4 separate regions of the Homo sapiens genome follow, and regions 2, 3 and 4 are each linked to region 1. Evidence: promoter capture Hi-C in 16 types of primary human blood cells and fetal thymus (Javierre and others, 2016). All regions are on one chromosome and are shown on one strand. The core of a region is centred on a gene start or on the middle of the fragment in contact, and the rest is flanking DNA. Distances in the headings are between cores, read along the strand shown. Region 1 holds the start of BRD8 (bromodomain containing 8). Region 2 overlaps MATR3 (matrin 3). Region 3 overlaps LOC124901081 (a long non-coding RNA gene). Region 4 overlaps MATR3 (matrin 3).

Region 1 (2,837 bases), core at 338-2,837:
CACCACTGCCCTCCAGCCTGGGCCACAGAGTGCAATCTTGTCTCAAAAAAAAAAAAAAAAAAATAGGCCTGGCAGTGGCTCACGCCTGTAATCCCAGCACTTTGGGAGGCCGAGGCGGACAGATCATGAGGTCAGGAGATTGAGACCATCGTGGCCAACATGGTGAAACCCCGTCTCTACTAAAAATACAAAATTAGCCAGGCATGGCCAGGCGCAGTGGCTCACACCTGTAATCCCAGCACTCTGGCAGGCCGAGGTGGGGGGATCACCTGAGGTCAGGAGTTCGAGACCAGCCTGGCCAACATGGCGAAACTCTGTCTCTACTAAAAAATACAAAAATTAGCTGGGCGTGTCCGCACCACTGCACTCCAGCCTGGGCAACAGAAGGAGACTCAGTCTCAAAAAAAGAAGAAAAAGAAAAGAAAGTCTACTTACAGCTTAATATGATTAACTATAGAAATCTACCGATGTGAAAGAGTATCTAACAATTTCTAAGACCCAGAAAAGCTGACATCCTAGATACCTTACCAATTTTGATCGCCACTTCTCATGACAGAAGATGCTAAACATAGCTTCTCTCGGATGGACCATGGCTCTGTGGGGCCAGTGCTTAGCAGCTTGTGTTCTGGGAAAGGGAGAAAAAAAAAAAAGCCTTGGAAACAACCACTGAGACTGTAGTGCTAAGCTCCAAAATCCCCAAAAAGAGGACTAAAAGCCTAATACAAAACATCCCAACTTGTTAGGACAAAGTGAGCTACTATAACCAAATCTTGATTTTCACCTCTCCAAGTGAAATATCACCAGTGACCGGGGTACCTATTCGTTGCATGTGAATTATTAACATTTTATTTCTTAAAACGCCATGGCTTGAAGCTCCGCTTTATTAAGAAACAGGGAATGTCAGATTAGGCAGTTCTCCCTAAAAGCCCAGTTTTAAGAATACTGGACTTTATTCCAGTTTGAACTTATTCAGGGCTTATTTCCCAGGAACCCGAGCGGCCAGCCCCTCCTACTACCCCGCCTCCCTCTTAGCATAAACTTGTTTACTTCTCTCAGATCCTCTACTCCAAATGTCGGGGGTAAAAGAGCTTTTCAGTCCAAAAAAAGAAAAATGGCTGAAATCCCCGAGATGCAATTTCCTGAGTGGCAAGAAAAGCTCATGGTTAAAAGACCCCACTTCCACTGCCTCACAAACGTCAGACAAAAAAATGAATGGCTCTTTGAGGTGCCGGTTACTCCGTCTGGCTCATAACATCTTTTCGTCTGCACGCCCAAGTTTCTAGAGTGCTTTTACGGTTAACCCGCAGAGTTCCTAACACACTAGGATTCACTAAGCTGCTTCTCTCACACCTCCGCTCTCTCCCTGAGAAACAAGACCCCAGATTTCTGGGCCCCCAAACGTTGGTCTTCACGATGCTGTAGAGCGCAGGTCTCTGAAAACCCTGGGCTCTCAAGCAACCCACTTCTCCCACTCCCTAAGCGTGTAACAAAAATATGGTGCCTAGCCTCGGATCTACAAAGGCCTTTCACGCAAAACCTGCTCAGATACTCACTGCCCGTTCCCGTCGCCATCTTGGCCCCGAAGTCTCCAACCCTGAGGAGAGACGGTCTGGAAGGGCCGAAACCCTGGAATTCTGGGAAATAGTGTACCGGCGTTGGTTCGCGGTGCCTCCTGGGAAATGTCGTTTTTCCCCTTAAGACAAAGCAAGCACCCTAAACCAGTTACCCTGTGCACTCCTGTTAAGATTGTTGCTAAGGAAGGACAGGAGTTGGCTGCTGAAGCCTCAAGATTTCCTTTAGGCTCTTAGGTAAGAAATGTCTAAGGTTCAAGGAAAAAGGTTAAGTTGGAAGAATCCCAGGCAAAATAAGTGCGAATCCACGACAGTTGGTAACCCGGACCCACATTAGAACTCAGAGGTCAAGCAGAAGCGAACGACTGGAATTCCAGTCAGGCCCGCCCCCTTTCCTTACGCGGATTGGTAGCTGCAGGCTTCCCTATCTGATTGGCCGAACGAACGCAGCGCGTAATTTAAAATATTGTATCTGTAACAAAGCTGCACCTCGTGGGCGGAGTTGTGCTCTGCGGCTGCGAAAGTCCAGCTTCGGCGACTAGGTGTGAGTAAGCCAGTATCCCAGGAGGAGCAAGTGGCACGTCTTCGGGTGAGTGTGCGGCTGTGCTGGAGCCCGGGTTACCAGCTCTTGCCCGCGCGGAATAGGCTTTAAGAAATCGGAGCTGCAGCCATCTGTTTTTCTCTTAATGCTGCATCTCTGTTCTCACGGTGGTCCTTGGGGTGAGGTTAGAGAAGGAGCCGAGGGATCCTGACACCACCTCCACAGCACCGGCGGGCGAGGTGCCCTACTTTAGGCGTAGCCTTCTGCTTTTGGAGCCAGATGTCTGTGGACTTCTGTTCGCGTTCAGAAATGCCGCCTCAAACTTCTCTCAATTGTTCATTAAGTGAACTTCTCTCATTCCCTTCCCCTTTGCCGATAATTGGAGGGGAAAAGAAGTAGGAAGCGGGACACGGTGTCCTGGGGCAAGGGACTTATTACCTAAAATTCGCGGCCCCTTCTGTCCCTAAAGGTTCTTCTCCCTGCCCACTTTTTGGTCTCTTTTTAGACCTAGGCTGCCCCTGCCGTCATGTCGCAAGGGATCCTTTCTCCGCCAGCGGGCTTGCTGTCCGATGACGATGTCGTAGTTTCTCCCATGTTTGAGTCCACAGCTGCAGATTTGGGGTCTGTGGTACGCAAGAACCTGCTATCAGACTGCTCTGTCGTCTCTACCTCCCTAGAGGACAAGCAGCAGGTAAAGGAACTGGGGAGTGGCTGGGGCGGAAAGT
Region 2 (2,700 bases), core at 17-2,516, 1.2 Mb after region 1:
TCCTAACTGGATGTTTGTGGGGTGATTTTTTGTTGTTGTTGTTTTTCTTTAAAAGATATAATGGCTTTTAATTCTTACTATTTTGCATTAACTATATAAAGTTGAAATTCCAATGAGATGGAAAGAAGCTTTGGACATTTTAGGTTAGATTTTTTAATATGTCTTTTGTACTTTCATTAGTGTCTTAATGGAGCTCCCGTGTCTAGAAACTCTAGCAGTCACAGGTTTAATGGCAGGGGTCAGCAAGCTACACTCGTGGCTCAGTCATCTGTTTTTGTAAGGTTTTATTAGAACCCACAGCCATAATCATTTAAGTGTCATCTATAGTTGTTTTAGTTTATAATTGAGTGCAGGATTGAGTAGTTGTAACAAAGACTGAATGGCCCAATGAGTCTAAAATATTTACTGCTGGCCTTGCAAGAAAATGTTTGTTCAGGTGATTTAATGAGTAGTGCATTGAGGCCAGATGTGATAGCTCTTGCCTGTAATCCCAGCACTTTGGGAGGCGGGGACAGGCAGATCACCTGAGATCAGGAGTTTGAGACCAGCCTGGCCAACACGGTGAAAACCCCGTCTCTACCAAAAGTACAAAAAAATTAACTGGGCTTGGTGGCGGGTGCCTGTAATCCCAGCTGCTTGGGAGGCTGAGGCAGGAGAATCACTTGAACCTGGGAGGTGGAGGTTGCAGTTAGCCGAGATCACGACACTGCACTCCAGCCTGGGCAACAGAGCAAAACTCTCCCTCAAAAAAAAAAGAATAAAAGTGCATGTCATTTAAACCCATAGTTCTTGAATAGTGTCAGTTCAGTGTGACTGTGGTCTTTGTTTTCTCATCTCTAAAAATTAGGGTTAATTATAACATTTGAAATACCCATTTTATACCTTTTACCATTTTTTCCCCGTGCCTTATTGTAATGTCCTGAAAGTTTTTGTGTGCTAATGAGGATTAACTAATTGTTGAAAATATTGACAAAATTATAGTTTAAGTCCCTAAACTTGGATATAGGATATTTGATTTTGGAATTAATCCATTTTGCTGCATTTCTCTTAGGTGACTTAATGGCTGTAATTCTCTTTCTTTATAGAAATTTCTGAATAAATTGGCAGAAGAACGCAGACAGAAGAAGGAAACTTAAGATGTGCAAGGAGATTTAATGATTTCAAAGAAAATAATGGTTCTTTGTTTTTAATGTTAACCTTTTTTAAATACAATACTGATAGTTAGAAGAAAACTATTGTACTCTTTTGTTTTAGTGGAGAAATAATAGATGTCTGTTCATGTGTTAAGTGTTATAGCAAAAAAAATACACATATGGTTAAGTTAATGAATAGTTTTTGTTTTATCAGAATGGCAACAGACAGAAGTACTTTGTAGAGATTGACTTCCTAAGCTACTTAAGACAACTTGCACCACTAAGAAAAAAATGTAGAACCATTTGGAAAAATGAAATTTAGTAGTTCCAAGTTTCAAAGAAATGTCAACATTTTATTCCATTCAATAAAGAACAAAACCAATAGTGTTTTTATTACTTTCATCTGAAACATTCCATGTTTTAATCTGAGCCTTGCAGACTTTCATTTGGAGTTTGAACCCGTTTTGGTTGCATTTCATTTTTGGAGAACTTAATTAACGTGAGATTGGCAATTGAAATGCAGGTGCAGTTTTCTGTTAATGTCATGCTGTTGTTTAGGTAATAAGAAATATTAAGTAATTGGCTTTAGATTTTGTAATTTTTTTCCCTGAGTTCCTGCTAGATTTCGTATTCTAGTAGTCAATGTATTTTCAGTGAAATGCAAAAATATTCCCGTTATCTTTGACCAGTATTAATTTTTGAGATCTTACTGCTTGTCACTTGAATCCCGTGATTGTCATACATCTCTGGTATAAGCAACATTTGATTTTTGAAGTGTGTAGACCATCTCTTCATATTTTCAAGATGTAATTTTACATTTCTGCATTTTTAAAACAGTTTGGCCATAATCCTAGATGCACGCTTCTAATTCATGTACCTGCACATGTGACCTTTGTGAACAGAAATTTGCATGTATAATTTGTGTTTACTTGTAACTTTCTGGTTATATACTGCTTATATCTGTGGATTCAAGTTACTGAAGTGAATACCAATAAAAAGAAAACCCTAGGCCATGTTAATTGGTTATACATGTTTGGAATGTTAACCAACGTATTTGTCAGTTGTGGTTTTTATTCGCTCTTAAACTTTGTGCATGCTTTAACAATTTATTACTTTTAAATCTAGAGTGAATTCTAAAGACTGCCGCTAAAGATCTGAGTTTTAAAAATGTTGTTGCTGGTGGATTTCTTGTTCCTGTTACATAACTAAAAGTGAGGCCATTTGTGGTTTTTAAAAACCTTATGAATTAAAAATGCTACAGGTGAACAAACAGAAGCTTATGTTTAGAGATATTGATGACTTAACAGTACAATTGGAAGTAATACGGATGAGCAAGAATTAGTTCTGCAGCTTTTCAAAATAATTACGTAGAGACTCTTGGTATATTGGATTATCTGTTGTAAACAATTTTTTTTTCTTCCCTGACACAGGGTCTCACTCTGTCACCCAGACTGGAGTGCAGTGGCACAGTTCTCTGCAACCTCAGCCTTTGGGCTCAAATGACCCTCCTACCTCAGTCTCCTGAGTAGCTGGGACTACAGGCTCATGCCACTATACCTGGCTAGTT
Region 3 (2,718 bases), core at 163-2,662, 1.1 Mb after region 1:
CCTTGTGATCCACCCGCCTCGGCCTCCCAAAGTGCTGGGATTACAGGCGTGAGCCACTGCACCCTGCCTATCTTAATGTTTTCAAGGTTCATCTATGTTATAGCATGAATCAGTACATGATTCATTTTTTTCTTTTTTTCTTTTGAGACAGAGTCTTGCTCTGTTGCCAGGCTGAAGTGCAGTGGCTCCATCTCTGCTTGCTACAATCTCCGCCTCCCGGGTTCAAGCCGTTCTCCTGCCTCAGCCTCCCAAGTAGCTGGGACTACATGCACAAGCCACCACACCCAGCTAATATTTTGTATTTTTAGTAGAGATGGGGTTTCACCATGTTGGCCAGGCTGGTCTCAAACTCCTGACCTCAAGTGATCCGCCTGCCTCAGCCTGCCAAAGTGCTAGGATTACAGGTGTGAGCCATCACGCCTGGCCTCTTTTTTTTTTTTTTTTTTTTTTGAGACAGAGTTTCACTGTCACTCAGGCTGGAGTGCAATGGCATGATCACAGCTCACTGCAGCCTCAATCTCCCAGGCTTAAGCAATCCTCTCACCTTAGCCCCCTAAAGTAGCTGGGACTACAGTTGTGTATCACCATGCCCACCTAATTTTTTTATTTTTTGTAGAGATGGGGTCCCATCTCTATGTTGCCCAGGCTGGTCTTGAACTCCTGGGCTCAAGCAATCCTCTTGCCTTAGCCTCTTCAAAGTGCTGGGATTACAGGATTAATTCCCTTTTATGGCCAAGTAATAGTCCATTGTGTGGATATGCCACATTTTGTTTATCCATTCATCAAGTAATGAACGTTTGGTTTTGGAGGGCTATTATGAATAATGCTGCTGTAAACATTTCTGTATAGGCTTTTGTGTGACGGGCTTTAATTTCTCTTGGGTACATACCTAGGACTGGAATTGCTGAGTCATAAAGTAACTCTGTGTTTAATCATTTGAGGAACTGCCAGACGGTTTTCCAAAGCAGCTGCACCATTTTACATTCCCACCAGCAGTGTATGAGGGTTCCAATTTCTCCACATCCTTGCCAATCCAACTATGCTTTTGAGAAATAACAAGGACAACTGAAGAGCCCCACTCTAATTGGGTAGCTAGTACATAGCAGCAAGAGGAGTGCAGGGATGGAGGAGGGGTCCCTCCTCTACTCTAAGCCCTTAGGATCAGCCAGAGAGAATACAGCTATCTCTAGTACTCTTCCTGACCCCCTAGGCTATGTTAGCTGCCCCCAGACATGTGACCAAGTATACATATAGTACTTGTCATTCTTCTCCTCTAGACTGTAAGCTTTAGGCAGGCAGGAATCTCTATTGTTCTGACTTTATCTGCAGCATCTGAACAGAGTCTGGCACATGATAGATGTTTCGTAAATGTTGATTGACTGAGTGACTGACTAACTGAACAAATGACTAGATATTTCTCTACTGGTGGTTTTTCTCCCTGTTCAGGGAGAAAGAAAAAGAGCAGTCTTAGAGGCAGAAAGCATCAAGGAGGGAAGCAGGAATGAGAGGAGAGATGGAGGATAAAGAGAAAGGCAGGGAAGAAGCTTGGGGACCTGGTGTCACTTGAGGTCAGCTTTAAGTTATGAGGTCAAACTCAGAGCTAATGGACTTCCCCTAGTCCTTTGCTTTCCATCTAGCTGCATCTTTTTTTCTAGAAATGTTCCCTTTTATTTTTTGTTATTATTCTCAATAATTTTGTCTTTGCAAGAAGAAACAAAAAAGTAGAAAAATAGTTGATATTACAGGTAAAAAAAACATAAATCAACCCATCAAAATTAATTCAGAATTTAAAAGGATGGAAGTCAAAAAGGTTGACTATGAAGGATTTTTAAGTTGGAAACAAAATCTTCATCTAGGTTTTTCTCCAAAGGTCATTGAAAGACCTATAGCCCAAAAAGTTGACCACTTGTTCAACAGGACATGAAAATATGGCTTACCTCACAGCCTTATTTATAATGGCTGGCCTTCCACATAAATCCTGCCTTCTACCTGGACTAATCTGAATCCAGTCATCACCAGATTATTGGTCCCTCTCTCCCCAAAGGTCTGCATAGCTCCCTGTCCTCAGTTACTTCTTGTCTCTTCTCTGAAAGCACACATGCACATTCACACACACACATACACACACACACACACACACACACACACACCCTATCTTTCCTTTTCATGAATCTTCAGGGTAGCTCTGCCCTCTCCACTTTGTGTGTTTGGAAGGAAAGAAAGCGAAATATATGAGATGCCAATGCAATTTCTCCTTTAGCAGAGCTCGGTAGGACAATTACCCACCCAATCTGCCTGGTTTTATAGCTCTCATAACCTTCCTTTATGAACACGCTGTGACAGCCGGATGTGGGCATTGATTATGGCAGCAGTCTTCAGCCACATTCCTATTTAACTGCAAAGCAGAGCTCCTGCCTACCAGCCCAGCACTGGTCATGTGACTTTTTAAATTACTGTATTTATGTAAGCCTTTTCCCAACCAGAGCCTATGTCCAACTGCATCAAAACTGGGGAGGATTTGAGCTTGCCACTTCCCCTCCAGTGGCTCTTTGGCCCTACAGCCTAGGGTCTCTTGCTGGAATCAAACTGGGGCTCTGGGCTTTCTTAGGAGAGGTCTGCAAGAGTTGGGGTGCACAAGAAGCATACCTTTTTCATTATGAAAGAGCTGAGGAAATAGACAATGAAACATGTTGGCAGATGCCAAGGGCAGTGGCTTGG
Region 4 (2,920 bases), core at 413-2,912, 1.1 Mb after region 1:
TCTGGAACAGCTGTTTGCTTCTGTTCTCCGTGAATTTTCAGGGTATGTGAAATTTTTCAGAAATATTTTAGTACTCTAGTTCTTTTAATTGGAGAAGAAAAAGCCAATAACAAAAATCAGATTCTCATGTAATGGGAGGTAGAATATTAACTGAAACGTTTCCTAACCATACATAGGGATGATACTCAGATTTGTTTAGATGTTGAATGTGAAGCTAACATTTTTAAACAGCTTAAAATTGTATCATAAAATAATTTTAAGTTACAGTTTGTTTTGAGTTGCCTATAAAAATGAATTTTTAAGCTAATTTGTTAAGAATTTGGTTATCGGGCCAGGCGTGGTGGCTCATGCCTATATAATCCCAGCACTTTGAGAGGACGAGGCAGGGGGATCACCTGAGGTCGAGACCAGCCTGACCAACATGGAGAAACCCCGTCTCTACTAAAAATACAAAATTAGCTGGAAGTGGTGGTGTGTGTCTGTAATTTCAGCTACTTGGGAGGCTGAGGCAGGAGAATCACTTGAACCTAGGAGGCAGAGGTTGCAGTGAGCTGAGATCGTGCCATTGCATTCCAGCCTGGGCATCAAGAGTGAAACTCCATCTGAAAAAAAAAAAAAAAGAATTTGGTTATCAAGATTGTAGTAAATGGCATTTGTGTAGTGAAATTGTGGGTAATGTTGATAGTTTTTAGGGGGGTGCAGGTGCTTTCTTTTTTGGAAGTGAAGGGTTCTGCATTGATGGGCATTTACACTAGTATATAGAGATTTTAAATAGGTAAATTGGATTTTGATAATAAATGTTCTCCCAAAGCTACTATATTTAAAATTGTTTTAACCTCTAGTGCAGTTTCCTATAGAAAGGCAATTTTATAATTACAGGAAAAAACAATACAGTAAAAGGAGCTAATCTTTTGTAAATCTTTAGTAAGTGTCTCCATATTGTGCTGCCTTTGCTAATAGGCAGTGGGGCCCATGTGAATGAGCCTTTAAAAGTGGCTTGTACATCTTATGTTCAGCATTGACATGATAGAGGAACTGTTTTCATTAATGCTTTTTCAACAATGTTGCCACATCTGGTTTCTCCCAACTTTGTTCTAATAAAACCATTTTTAAGAATTTGGTTTATTTGTGGTTTAATCCAAAATCTAACTTAAGTTGCTTTTCACTAATTTTACCCTAATATCCTTGATGGAGCTGCATTTTACGTTGAAACTGAGTATCTTAAAACTACTAAGGTGGTTATGGAATTACACGTTGTCATGGGATTTACATTGTTTGTCTTGACTCTTTTCTGAGTTTTTCTGACATTCATTTTCTGTTTGTCTTAAGGTTATCCTTTACCTTTGCTTCTCTTAACTTTTTCCTTTTGTTGATCCACTGTTTTCCTATGAGCTACCAAAAAATGTAATTCAGAGCTCTGTAGTCTAACAGTCACATTTCCTTAAAATATGGCCGTTTTAAAAATTTTAAACATAATTGTAATACCATTATATAATTTCTCTTAGGGAAAAAATAATTCAAAAGACTGACTTTTCAGTAATGCAAAGCTTTGGCTACAACATGAAGGTCAAAGCTGCAATTAATAACCCTGATACTTCAACATTTTTATTTTGAAAAACCCTCTAAAGGATTTGATTTGTAAAAATATGTGTGAAAATTTAGAGGGTCCACCACCATTTACATAGCATCTCAGCCGCCATTCTGTCTGGCATTTATAAGACATATCAAAGAAACTTTCATCTGAAGAAGTCCACTTATTCTCGTCTTTATTAATCTTAAAGCTTAAGTAGTTTACATAGTGGATCTTGTCTAGAACTATTAATAGTTTCTTTGGTGTATTTTCTCAAATTCATCTTTCTTGGTGTGCAAAAACATCTTCCTGTAACTCCAGCCACCTCTTATAGCATTTCTGTGTCTTTTAAAACTTGATTATATCTATTTTTTAAAATCCAGTCTAAATCTTTCTTGCCTGCAACTTTTTTTATACTTCCTTTGCCACTGTATTTGTCCATTGTATCCTTGCTTTAATCTATCATTGGTGAAATTGATCCTGTAATAGACTTGTAACTACTGGATATTGTCTGGTTTTACTGTTAAAGTTTCACATATTAAGCTACCAGTGCTGAGTGTATTGGTGATCAAAAAATAGAAAATTTAAGCAATGCCTCATAGAATTCTGTACCAAACAACTTCAGATTTACCTCTGTATGTAGTTGTGATTATAAAATTGTTTCACTGAAGATGTTATGTATATCTTTCAACTAATATTTTATGACAATCGTGATATAAAAGATTTGGAAATTCTTATGTGACAGTTTCTGAGGTACAACAATAATGATTTAAGAAAGAAAACAATTTCATCTAGAAACACGTCTTGGGGGATCATAATCAGAACATAAATTTACCAGGTGATTTGGGCTATTCTTGTGAAAAGTTTACAGGAAACTGTGTAACCAAGATCTCATTTTCATTTTTACCTGTTTTGTGCTCTAGATGTGCTGTAGCCCTGAGCATTAAATGAGTACTGATGGATGCTGATTTGGGGAGTTCCCTTCTTTAAATCACCTGTATTTCCTGTACCTAGGTTTTTTCTTGGGAGGGCTCCTATTCCTGTACTGACCAGAGTTAGTTCTCCTTACTTTAAAAGACTAGATATGAAGTAAACACTGCCTGATGTAGGATGGTCAGTAAGAAGGCAATTAGTTGTATAACTTAAATTTGGGCAGCAATCCTTAAAACTATAGGAAATGACTTATTTTTCTTATTCACATCTATCTTCACCTCAAATTGATTTTGCTGTATAAAGGTCTCAGCTATTATGTTTGGTCTTATATCTTACATTAGGTACTTGAAACCTAAGCTTCATTTACTTGTGATTTTACTTGGTTCTTTCTGATAGTGATAATAGGTCTCATTTTCC

The links. The method cuts DNA at HindIII sites, captures the fragments that hold promoters and counts their contacts. A CHiCAGO score of 5 or more calls a contact.
Region 2: a fragment that was not itself captured here is called in contact with the fragment with the promoter of BRD8 in region 1 in 1 of 17 cell types (monocytes); the score reaches 5.5 in monocytes.
Region 3: a contact is called between a fragment that was not itself captured here and the fragment with the promoter of BRD8 in region 1, in 3 of 17 cell types (fetal thymus, non-activated CD4 T cells and total CD8 T cells). The highest score is 8.1, in fetal thymus.
Region 4: a fragment that was not itself captured here is called in contact with the fragment with the promoter of BRD8 in region 1 in 2 of 17 cell types (erythroblasts and fetal thymus); the score reaches 5.6 in erythroblasts.

What each region holds. Positions count from the first base shown.
Region 1 is chr5:138,177,043-138,179,879 of GRCh38, forward strand. It overlaps BRD8 (bromodomain containing 8), which reads right to left and starts at 1,588. Exons shown (of 27, transcript NM_139199.2): 1 at 1,554-1,588; 2 at 529-625. The coding sequence starts at 1,572. It overlaps KIF20A (kinesin family member 20A), which reads left to right and starts at 2,070. Exons shown (of 19, transcript NM_005733.3): 1 at 2,070-2,160; 2 at 2,618-2,803. The coding sequence starts at 2,639. RefSeq lists enhancers at 1,538-1,832, 1,540-1,589, 1,730-1,899. The HindIII fragment of the contact is 9,650 bases long and covers 1-2,837 here.
Region 2 is chr5:139,328,260-139,330,959 of GRCh38, forward strand. It overlaps MATR3 (matrin 3), which reads left to right. Exons shown (of 15, transcript NM_018834.6): 15 at 1,086-2,700. The coding sequence ends at 1,136. Among named protein-coding and RNA genes, the nearest start is that of PAIP2, 12 kb to the right of the region's middle. The HindIII fragment of the contact is 2,281 bases long and covers 127-2,407 here.
Region 3 is chr5:139,270,486-139,273,203 of GRCh38, forward strand. LOC124901081 (a long non-coding RNA gene) reads right to left here. Exons shown (of 4, transcript XR_007058956.1): 4 at 2,582-2,718. Among named protein-coding and RNA genes, the nearest start is that of SNHG4, 2.3 kb to the right of the region's middle. The HindIII fragment of the contact is 259 bases long and covers 1,284-1,542 here.
Region 4 is chr5:139,303,896-139,306,815 of GRCh38, forward strand. All of the region lies in intron 1 of MATR3 (matrin 3), which reads left to right. Among named protein-coding and RNA genes, the nearest start is that of MATR3, 12 kb to the left of the region's middle. The HindIII fragment of the contact is 234 bases long and covers 1,546-1,779 here.